Regions from separate parts of the Homo sapiens genome. Here region 1 is linked to region 2. The links are contacts of gene promoters, found by promoter capture Hi-C in human tissues and cell types (Jung and others, 2019). All regions are on one chromosome and are shown on one strand. Each heading gives the region's core, a stretch centred on a gene start or on the middle of the fragment in contact. The rest is flanking DNA. Distances are from core to core; before and after follow the strand shown. Region 1 overlaps LOC124904780 (a long non-coding RNA gene). Region 2 holds the start of ZNF587 (zinc finger protein 587).

Region 1 (5,667 bases), core at 2,715-5,214, 670 kb before region 2:
CACAGAGCTGTAAACTAAAAATCAAATTCTAAGCTCCCAGCCAACTGAATGGACCCCTCCTCTCAGCTAAGAGCATGGCAAACTTAACCGGAAACACTAGTTCGGCCGCGATAGGAAGGAGATGGGACATGCCTCATTTTACCCTCCTCTCTTTGAAATTCAGGCACAGGTCGGGCGCGGTGGCTCATGCCTGTAATCCCAGCACTTTCGGAGGCCGAGGTGGGTGGATCACATGAGGTCAGGAGTTCGAGACCAGCCTGGCCAACATGGAGAAACCCCGTCTCTACTAAAAATACAAAAATTAGCCAGGCGTGGTGGCGGGCGCCTGTATCCCAACTACTCAGGAGGCTGAGGCAGGAGAATTGCTTTAACCCGGGAGGTGGAGGTTGCAGTGAGCCGAGATCGCGCCACTGCCACTCCAGCCTCAGCACCAGAGCAAGACTACGCCTCAAAAAAAAAAAAAAAAAAAAAAGGAATTCAGGCACAGCTGACCAGTATTAACATTAAAACAATTTTTTTTTAGTATCTTCATGCTAAAGGGGTAAGTAGAAATTGCATGTAGCCTCCCATCAGTTTATTCCAAATAGCAAACATTTACCAAGCCCTGAGTTATTAACTACGTATTTTCTTTTTGTAAACCTTACAATTGAGCAGGCAAGTAATAACATTATCTCCATATTTTTAATGTGAGGAAACTGAGGCCCAGGAAGACGTGTAATTTGCCCAATATCAGGTATTCAGTATATTGGAGATTTGAAGGACAAGTTATTTATTTTGAAAAATGTATACCTTTTCCAAAGTTCCAACAATAATTCAATGAACACATTTATTTTGCCCCAGAATTGCCAATGATGTTATGTCCTATAAGGAGGCACCTAAGTATACAGTTTGTCCATTTGGGAGATTTGGATTTTGACTACTTGGTTAAGATGGTATCTACTAGATCTCTCCACTCTTTCTTCTTTGTAATTAATAAGTAATCTGTGGGTCAATTCTTTGCAATGTCTGAATAATATTAAGTCCCCCCACTTCAGCCTCTAGTTTTAGCCTCTGTTGATGATTCTTCCCTGAATCTGTGATCACTGCTTGTGGGGATTCTATTTCTATTACTTCTTTACATTTTATACTTATAAGTTGACACTCCTGTAAAGAACTTTACCCATCCCATTCTTTTTTCTTTTCTTTTTTTTTGTTTTTGAGAAAGAGTCTCACTCTTGTCATCCGGGCTGGAGTGCAGTTGCGCGATCTAGGCTCACTGCAGCCTCCGCCTCCCGATTTCAAGTGATTCTCCTGTCTCAGCTTCCCAAGTAGCTGAGACTACAGGCGTGTGCTACCACACCCAGCTAATTTTGTTTTTTTTGGGTTTTTTTTTTGTTTTTGTTTTTGTTTTTTTTTAGTAGAGATGGGGTTTCACCATGTTGGCCAGGCTGGTCTCAAACTACTGACCTCAGGTGATCCACCCCCCTCGGCCTCCCAAAGTGTTGAGATTACAGGCGTGAGCCACCGCGCCCGGCCCACCTCAGGTGATCCACCCCTCTCAGCCTCCCAAAGTGTTGAGATTACAGGCGTGAGCCACCACGCCGGGCCCACCTCAGGTGATCCACCCCCCTCGGCCTCCCAAAGTGTTGAGATTACAGGCGTGAGCCACCGCGCCCGGCCCACCTCAGGTGATCCACCCCTCTCAGCCTCCCAAAGTGCTGAGATTACAGGCGTGAGCCACCGCGCCCGGCCCATCCCATCCCATCCATTTTAAGTTAGTTAATTATTTTAGAAGCCACATGGAGTGGATGATTTTTATCTGCGGCATTATAATCCATTTATCTCATTGTATTGGTGCTCACACTACCCAGCATTAGCCTCTCCAAACTCAAGTAGGCTTGACTTTCTTATTTCTATCACAGAGCTCCTGAAACCCTTGGAATTTCCTGTGTGTTGAAATGTCTTTTGTTATTTTTAATGACTTTTTGATCACATCTCAGTTTATACCAATGAGATGGCTTAGGGTGGAGACCCTAGACAGCCTCAAGATGAAGCTGGTCACCAGAAAGATTAGAGAGTTGGAACTTTCAGTCCTACCCACCAACCTCTGTGAAGTGGAAAGGGTGGGATGGCTTGACATGAAGCTCTATAAAAACTCTTGGACAACAAGATTTTAGCTTTCCAGATTGCTGAACACATTCAGTGTTCCTGGAGAGGGCATGGAAGCTCCACACCTCTTCTCACATACCTTGCCCTGTGTATCTTTTCTGACTGTTTGTTTGTATCCTTTGTGATATCTTTTATTATAAAACAGTAAACATAAGCAAAGTGTTTCCCCGAGTTCTATGAGCCATTCTAGAAATGAGTTCTAGGGGGTTGTGGGAACCCCAATTCTAATGTAGTTGGTCAAAAGCACAGGCCACAACCAGGTGATTGTGACTGGCATCTGAAGTGAAGGGCAATTCTGTGGGACTTAGTCCTCAACCTATGGGATGTGACACTTCCTTCAAGTAGATAGTGTCAGATTTGAATTATAGGACACCTACTGGTGTCTCCTGGAAAACTGGGATGGATGAAAAAACCTCCACTCATTTGGTCACACAAATGTTCTGTTTTGAGTGAGTTGAAAGAAAAGAACAGTTAGTTTTTTTGCTTTAGATGTGGTGTCAGAAATGGGATGTTGAATGATTGTGTAAGAGTGGGAGCACTTGGCAGAGAAGTCAAAGATGGCGGCTGTAGCTGCTGTTCGCTGGCTGGGGCTCTGCAGCAGGCTTGACCAGCCACTGACGGGTCAGCCAGCAGGTCTATGTGAACAAGCACACAGCTGAGATTTTATTCTGGAAGTGCAACCCTCTCAAATATTGAAGGAACTGATATAACAGGGATTGAAGAAGTAGTAATTCCAAAAAAGAAAACTTGGGATAAAGTAGCCGTTCTTCAGGCTCTTGCATCCACAGTAAACAGGGTTCCCACGGCTGTACCTTGCGTGTTTCAAGATAATCCTTACCTCATACCAACATCCTCTTCAGAATCTCGTTCATTTTTACTGGCAAAGAAATCCGGGGAGAATACGGCCAAGTTCATTATTAATTCATACTCCAAATATTTTCAGAAAGACATAGCTGAACCTCATACACTGTGTTTAATGCCTGAGTACTTTGAACCTCAGATCAAAGACATAAGTGAAGCCACTCTCAAGGAATGAATCAAGCTCAGAAAAGTCAAAGTCTCTGTGGACATGTTTGATGAGCTTTTGCAAGCAGGAACCACTGTGTCTCTTGTAACAACATATAGTCTCTTGGATTTATTGTGTTACTATGGTGACCAGGAGCCCTCAACTGATTATCAGTTTCAACAAATTGAACAGTCAGAAGAATTGGAAGAGGAAAATAATAAGAGGTCTAGGAGGAAAGCTGGTGATCAATTTGGAGTTACCTGGTGAGCACAAAACAACGCTGAGAGAATGTTTTCTCTAATGCCAGGGAAAAATGCACATTCCTATTGCACAGTGATCCGAGGAATGGTGAAGCATCAAGCTTATGAGCAGGCATTAAACCTGTACACTGAGTTACTAAACAACAGACTCTGTGCTGATGTATACACATTTAATGCAGTGATTGAAGCAACAGTATTGGTGATAAATGAGAAATTTGAGGAAGAATGGAATAATATACTGGAGCTGCTAAGACAAATGGTTGCACAGAAGGTGAAACCAAATCTACAGACTTTTAATACCATTCTGAAATGTCTCCGAAGATTTTATGTACTTGCAAGATTGCCAGCCTTACAGATTCTATGTGAAATGAAAGCCATCAGACTAGAACCCTCGCTTGCAACATATCACCATATTATTCAGCTGTTTTATCAGCCTGGAAACCCTTCAAAGGGATCATCTTTCATCATCTATGATATAATGAATGAATTAATGGGAAAGAGATTTTCCCCCAAAGGACCTGGATGATGATAAGCTTTTTCAGTCAGCCATGAGAGTATCTTCATCTCTCAGAAATCTAGAACTTGCGTACCAAATACATGGCTTTTTTTTTTTTTTTTTTTTTTTTTTTTGAGAGAGAGAGTCTCGCTCTGTCACACACGCTGGAGTGCAGTGGTGCAATCTCGCCTCACTGCAAGCTCTGCCTCCCGGGTTCACGCCATTCTCCTGCTTCAGCCTCCCGAGTAGCTGGGACTACAGGTGCCCACCACCACGCCTGGCTAATTTTTTTTGTATGTTTAGTAGAGATGGGGTTTCACAGTGTTAGCCAGGATGGTCTCGATCTCCTGACCTCATGATCCGCCCGTCTCGGCCTCCCAAAGTACTGGGATTACAGGCGTGAGCCACTGCACCCGGCTACATGGCCTTTTAAATACCAGAGACAACTGAAAATTCATTGGACCTGATAAACGGCATAATTCCTATTATTCCATGTTCTTCAATTTGATTTGTCTAATGGAACGAATTGATGTCACCTTGAAGTGGTATGAGGACCTGATACCTTCAGCCTTCTTTCCCCACTCCCAAATGTTGATAGATCTCCGAGCATTGGATGTGGCCAACTGGCTGGAAGTGATTACTCAAATTTGGAAAGATAGTAAAGAATATAGTCACACTTTCTGCAACAACCTGAGAGAAGAGATCCTGACACTCATGGCAATGGATAAGCACCCACCAGAGCTTCAGGTAGCATTTGCTGACTGTGCTGCTGATATCAAATCTACGTATGAAAGCCAGCCTGTCAGACACACTGCTCTGAATTGGCCAGCTATCTGTCTCAACTGTAGAGCTGTCTTTTTTTTTTTTTTTTTTTTTTTTTGGGACGGAGTTTCGCTCTTGTGGCCCAGGCTGGCGTGCAATGGCATGGTCTCGGCTCACTGCAACCTCTGCCTCCGAGGTTTAAGTGATTCTCCTGCCTCAGCCTCCTGAGTAGCTGGGATTACAGGCGTCCACCACTATGCTGGCTAATTTTTGTCTTTTTAGTAGAAACAGGGTTTCACCATGTTGGCCAGGCTGTCTCAAGCTCCTGACCCCAGGTGATCCACCTGCCTCAGCCTCCCAAAGTGCTGGGATTACCTACATGAGCCACTGCGCTCAGCCAGCTGTCCTCTTTTTAATGGCTGGGAGAATCCAGGAAGCCTGGAAAATGTTGGGGCTTTTTAGGAAGCATAATAAGATCCCTAGAAATGAGTTGCTGAATGAGTTTATGGACAGTGCAAGAGTGTCTAACAGCCCCTCCCAGGCCACTGAGGTAGTAGAGGTGGCTCAGCTTACCTATTTGTGAGGGCCTCACCCAGAGAGTAATGACTGACTTTGCAATCAACCAGGAACAAAAGGAAGCCCTAGGCAACTTCACTGCATTGACCAGTAACAGTGATACTGACAGCAGCAGTGACAGCGACAGTGACACCAGTGAAGGCAAATGAAAGTGGAGATTCGGGAGCAGCAATGGCCTCAGCGCAGCTGCTGGAATCACACCTGAGAGCGAGATATGCTAATATTTAACACTGTTACAAAGAAGACAAGATACAGATTGGGTGAATTTGTTACTGTGAGATACAGTCAGTACACAGCTGATTTATGTAGATTTAAGCTCCTAATTTGCAACTTAATAACTGTCTATTAATACACCATTAAAGGTTTAGCATTTAAGTAGCAACATGGCCGTTTTCAGGCCAGGCGCAGTGGCTCACGCC
Region 2 (6,078 bases), core at 139-2,638:
AATGGCATGATCTCGACTCATCGCAACCTCCACCTCCAGGGTTCAAGTAATTCTCCTACCTCAGCCTCCCGAGTAGCTGGAATTGGAGGCATGCAGCACCATGCCTGGAAAATTTTGTACTTTCAGTAGAGACACGGTTTCTCCATGTTGGCCAGGCTGGTCTCGAACTCCCGACCTCAGGTGATCCACCTGCCTTGGCCTCCCAAAGTGCTGGGATTACAGGTGTGAGCCACCATGTCTGGCCTTTATTTTTATTTTTTGTGGGTATATAGTAGTGTATATATTTGTAGATTACATTAGATATTTTGATGTAGCCATGCCATATGTGATAATCACATAGGGTAAATGGGGTCTCAGTCACCTCAACATTTATCCTCTGTATTATAAACAGTCCAGTTATACTCTTTTAGTTATTTTTAAATATATAATTAAATTATTTTGACTATAGCCACCCTGTTATGGTAGCAAATATTAGGTCTTATTCATTTTTGCTCACTGTTTTTTGTACCCATCCTGTCATCATGTCTTATGGAGAATTTTCTTTTGTTCCCAACAAAACAATGAAACTCGCAAAACTGACTGTAATGATTCAGTCTACGTGAATTTAAAGAGCAATCAATACTTAATGTTCTCAGCTCTGAGTGCACACATTGTAAGTCTGAATGATGCCAATGATATGGCCACTTAGATAAGTAAAGTTTGGGAGCATCTCAAATAGTATTTTTATTCTCTGGGTGCAGGATGAGCTTCCTAGAGTCTGATGTGATACCTATTTGATGCTTTTACAAAGAATCAATAATCTTCCTCCTTTGAGGTGTGAGCAGGGCTTTCCAGCAGCCCTCAGAATGTAACATGGTCTGCATTCGGTTTGCTCTTGGAGGATACCACCATTGTTGGCTGAGAGCTCTGGGAAGTACTTTACCCAGAAGGCGCTAGTTGCAAGGCCCAGGATGAGGGATTTCTGGGCATGCTTGTCAGGCCAGGGAGTACTGGGTTGGGACTGAGAAGGCACAAGAGGAGTAGTCATCTCTGCTCCCAAGTGGCAGGTCTGAGGCTCATAGGCACTGGCTGGGGTGATGCCTGCTCCACCCACAGTTGATGGCAGCAGCCACACTGAGGGACCTAGCTCAGGTAAATGCTGTGTATTACAGGCTTCACCCCAGCTAGAGTAATACAGGTAGAGGAACCAATAGGTACAAAGGCTTGGAGGTGCATCTGAGCCATGAACATTTCAGAACCTGGTAACCATGTTGTGTCATGGAAAGTGGGGAACTACATTACCCAGAAAGCTCTGCTTTAAACGACAGCCGGTCAGAGCCAGTGAGCACTCGGAAAGAAGGCATTTCCACGTGTGCACGTAACGTAAGGCCGAGACTTCCGGGGTCTCTAGTAGCGGCTGTGTATCGGCGATGCGGGTGTTTCCCCAGTTTGTGGCCCCTGAGTGCTGGGTGGGACCGCGGTGACTGAACCTAGAAGGTGGAGAGGAATCGTCCTCGGTGCCCAGAGGCGGCTCTGCAGCCCCGTGACGGCGACCACTGCTCCCGGGCCGTGCTTCCCCAAGTAGTCCGATGGCAGCGGCTGTGCCGAGGCGCCCAACTCAGGTAATTGTGGTGCCTTCTGTGCCCTCAGGTCACCCCATCGTCACCCAGGTCCTAAACCAGCGAGGGAGCGGCTCCTGCTCGTGGGTCTGTAGCCGGTACCCGGCGTAGGAACACTGAGGCGCTCACAGGAGGCCTCTCCTTGTAACCGTCCAGTGGGTTCACGTTGCCAGCTGCCTAGACAGAGCCGATTTATGAAGACTGGGGAATTGCGATGGAGAAATAGTAATTCACGCAGAGCCGTCCTGCTGTTCGGGAGACAGGAGTTTTATTATTCAAATCAGTCTCCCTGAGCATTCTGGGATCAGAGTTTTCAAAATTTGGCGGGTAGGGGCTTGGGAAGTGGGGAGTGCTGATCAGTCTGGTTGGAGATGGATTCATAGGGGGTTAAAGTGAGTTTTTCATGCTGTTTTCTGTTCTGGGTGGGATGGCAGAACTGATTGACCCAGATTACCGGTCTGTGTGTTGTCCGCTGATCCATCCAGTGCAGGATCTGCAAAATGCCCCAAGCACTGATCTTAGATATTGGGGAAACCAGCCCCACACCACCCAGCAGATACCCCGAGTCCTGCGGAGACAAAGGAGTTAGAAAGAGACAGAATACGCATTTAAAAGGCGGGTCCAGGTGGCCAGAGCATTGGAGGCTTCCTGGCGGCCCAGAGCTCTTGGGCTCCACCCAGTTTATTGGTTTACAAGCTCTTTGTTCTTATGGCTGATTGGAGGGGGAGGAAGCGATCAGGAAAAGGATTAATCAGTAAAGGAGAACTCGTGAGTCATTCCATAAGATGTAAAGCACTGGCCGTTTCTGTGAATTTCCTTGAACAAAGGCGTGTGTCTAAACTACTTAAGATCTTTAACTTAACTGAAACGGGTGGCTGCGGGTTTCAGGAGGAGCCAAGATGTTTGATTATGCTCCACTGCTTCAAGGGAGTGTGATCTCCCTGAGCAACCCATGGAATGCTGCTGAAGAGTTATGCTCTCGGGGCATAAAGACATGAAGGCAATAAGGAGACTTTTCTCCTCAGAGGCCGCCCATGGCTTCCCATGGGTGTCTCACACAGGGGAGACCAACTCAACTAGCACCCCAGAAACTCACATTAGGTTTTACAATAGTAAGGTTATCTTCAGGAGCAACTTGGGGAGGTTCAGACTCTTGGAGCCAGAAGCTGCATGACCCCTAAACCGTAATTTCTATTCTTGTAGCTAATTTGTTAGTCCTGCAAAGACAGGCTGGTCCCCAGGCAAGAAAGGGGTCTTTTCAGGAAAGGGCTATTATCAATTTTGTTTCAGAGTGAAACCATGAACTGAATTCTTTTCCAAAGTTAATTCAGCCTATGCCCAGGAATGAAAAAAGACGGCTGAAAGGTTGGAAGCAAGATGGAGTCGGTTAGGTCTGATTTCTTTCACTGTCATAATTTCGTCAGTTATAATTTTGCAAAGTCGGTTTCACCTGTTTCTGACACCAGTGGGATGCAGTGGGGAGAGTGACAGGCACAGGTAGGGGTGCAGGCAATGGCCTGCAGATGGACAGAGCTGGAAGGATGGAACCTGGGGTTCACAGGCATCTGTCAGGAACAACGTGTGAGATGGAGCTCTTCCTGGTAGAGCAAGCAGGCCAGGGGCTGTGCATTCATCATGAGGATTCTAGAAGCCATGGAGAGTTTTGAAGAAAGGAGGGACATGATCCAAATCCAGGCTTTTAAGAAGTTTCCCAAAGGCCAATCAAAGGAAGAACATCATAGAGAGAGAGGATGAGGACTTTGGGGCCTTGGGAGGTTGAATCCGTTTTGTAGATCACATAGATGGTAGAGATGACATTTTGCACTGAGAAAAGCAGGTCAGACAACCAGCCTTAGGGTTACCTGGTTCCAGGGACAAGAAAGGGTTCAGGGAGTCCTGAGCTTATCAAATCCTGTGACATGTTTGTAATGTCTGCCTTTCCCCTCAGGCACTCCTGGCTGCAGAAGCACTTAGGGAACCCACACAGGGAAGTGGAGGGTGTTCCATTCCCTCATTGGTCCTGACGCCATCTACAGGTTCTCTAGCTTGTGGTGTCCTGGGACTCTTAAGTGCCATTTTTTTCAGTCCTTTGATCCGAGGACCCTGGAGAATCTCTGAAGCCAGGATACCAAGTCCATGACAGGTTATATGGAGGTATTCCCATTTCTGTCAACCAATGTAAACACCCTTGTAAGATTAACCCAGGATTTGCTACCAGGTTGTGAAATGCTTAGAGATAAAACGGATCAAAGTCAGGAGGTGATATTACCACAGTTCTACCTGGCTACAGGCTTCATCTGGCTGGACCTTGTTGCATAGACTGTGGGTTGAGGGAAGAGGAAGAAAGGTCAGAGATAAGGCTCCTGCCATAATCCAGGTGAGGGTTAATGGATCAGATAAGTGGTAAATCACATGGGTCTGGATTCAGGATTCACTTTTTGTAAAGAGACAGCTAGGTTTTCTTTTTTTTTTCTTAACGTGGAATTTCAGTCTTGTTGCCCAGGCTGGAGTGCAATGGCGCAATCTTGGGCTCACTGGAGCCTCTGCCTCCCAGGTTCAAGCAATTCTCCTGCCTCAGCATTCAAGGTAGCTGGCATTACAGGCACCCACCATCATGCCCAGCTAATTTTTGTATTTTTAGTAGAGACGAGGTTTTACCATGTTGGCCAGGCTGGTCTCGAACTCCTGACCTCAAGTGATCGTCACATCTCGGCCTCCCAAAGTGCTGGGATTATAGGCATGGACCAATGCGCCCAGCCGAGACAGCTAGGCTTTTTTTTTTTTTTTTTTTTTTTTTTTTTTGAGACGGAGTTTCACTCTCTTGTCCAGCCTGGAGTCTAGTGGCACAATCTCAGCCCACTGCAACCTTCACCTCCTGGGCTCAAGTGATTCTCCTGCCTCAGCCTCCTGAGTAGCTGGGATTACAGGCATGTACCACCACACTCGGCTAATTTTTCTATTTTTAGTAAAGTCGGGGTTTCACCATGTTGGCCAGGCTAGTCTCAAACTCCTGACCTCAGGAGATTCGCTGGCCTCTGCCTCCCCAAGTGCTGGGATTATAGGCACGAGCCACCATGCCTTGCAGACAGCTAGATTTTCTAATGTGGATGATAGGAGCATGAAAGAGGAATCGGGCATGAGCCCAAGGTTTTTGATCTTAGCAGCTGTAACCATGCACACTGCTTCAGCTGAGATGACGTTGGTATTGACATAATATTCACTGTGGATATCCAGAGGGTTGTTTTGGCCATATGAAGAATCAGAGACCAATAAGTGGTGGCATCAAATCGATAACTAGACATACTGGATGGGGTATCTGGGAGGGTGTTGATACTGGAGACATCCAATATATGAAAGCTAATGAGTGAACTATGATTAGTTATGGGTCCATTTAGGAGGACATGCTTCAGATTATGGTGGTAAATCTTTTCAGGGGGCAGAAAGGTGTGATTACAGGCTGAGGACTGGATCTCTTACTTACGTCCTCAATTGATGTTATTGGGCTTCCTAAACACCTGAGAGGGTGTGAGTGACCATCATAACAGGACATTTAATACAGTAGAGTTTGGAAGGGGACATAGACATCCAAAGAGATAATAGAGAAGAGATAGATGCATGCAGAAGCACAGGAGTAATTCAGGGAAGATGACACTTAGGCCTGAGTTGGTGCCAAAGTTGTAACTTTTTTGTTTTTTTTTTTTTTTCAGATGGAGTTTCGCTCTTGTTGCCCAAGCTGGAGTGCAATGGTGCCATCTCGGCTCACTGCAACCTCCACCTCCTGGGTTCAAGCAATTCTCCTGCCTCAGCCTCCCAAGTAGCTAGTATTACAGGCACCTGCCACCACAGCAGGCTAATTTTTGTATTTTCGGTAGAGACAGGGTTTCACCATGCTGACCAGGCTAGTCTTGAACTCCTGACCGGGTGATCTGCCTGCCTCGGCCTCAAAGTGCTGGAATTGCAGGCGTGAGCCACTGTGCCTGGCCAGTTGTAACTATTTATCACTGTCTGGACTCATAAACATTTTGAGATGACTTTGGGAGTGCCTGGGGAGTTTCATTCAGCCTGGTGCATATGGGCAGTGAAAAATATGCTCATCTGTGATAGTAGATGTGGTTTGGTTCACAAATCCAGGGGCTGGGCTTTAAACGGCATTAGGTGGACAGAGGAGGGTTGCTACAGCTGAGGTCTCAGCTGGTGCAGCACAAAAGTGAAATAGGGCCATGGCTATCTGAAGCCATATGTGGTTCTGTGTGGCTATGGAGTCATTCCAGGAGACGTTCACAGGATGATTTGGGATTACCACTGCTATTGTAAACCATGGAAATTCTGTGTTAATATTGGATGCTATTTGTATTTGTCAAGCATAGTCTGGATGCTTATCCACATTTTGGTATAAGGCCAGAATTGAAGGCCCAATATGATGTGTCACTTTGACATCTTGTGAAAGTGGGACAACCTTAAAAGGTGTGAGTACAAATCT

The links. The method cuts DNA at HindIII sites, captures the fragments that hold promoters and counts their contacts. A contact is called where the count stands out against the background at its distance.
Region 1: a fragment that was not itself captured here is called in contact with the fragment with the promoter of ZNF587 in region 2 in 1 of the 25 tissues and cell types used here (hippocampus).

What each region holds. Positions count from the first base shown.
Region 1 is chr19:57,172,526-57,178,192 of GRCh38, forward strand. All of the region lies in intron 1 of LOC124904780 (a long non-coding RNA gene), which reads left to right. It also overlaps the pseudogene LOC100132009. Among named protein-coding and RNA genes, the nearest start is that of DUXA, 7.9 kb to the left of the region's middle. The HindIII fragment of the contact is 5,158 bases long and covers 1,386-5,667 here.
Region 2 is chr19:57,848,471-57,854,548 of GRCh38, forward strand. ZNF587 (zinc finger protein 587) reads left to right here and starts at 1,389. Exons shown (of 3, transcript NM_032828.4): 1 at 1,389-1,601. The coding sequence starts at 1,569. LOC124904782 (a long non-coding RNA gene) reads right to left here. Exons shown (of 2, transcript XR_007067358.1): 2 at 1,845-2,091. RefSeq lists enhancers at 987-1,096, 1,167-1,226, 1,397-1,636, 1,687-1,776, 1,831-3,030. The HindIII fragment of the contact is 32,917 bases long and covers 1-6,078 here.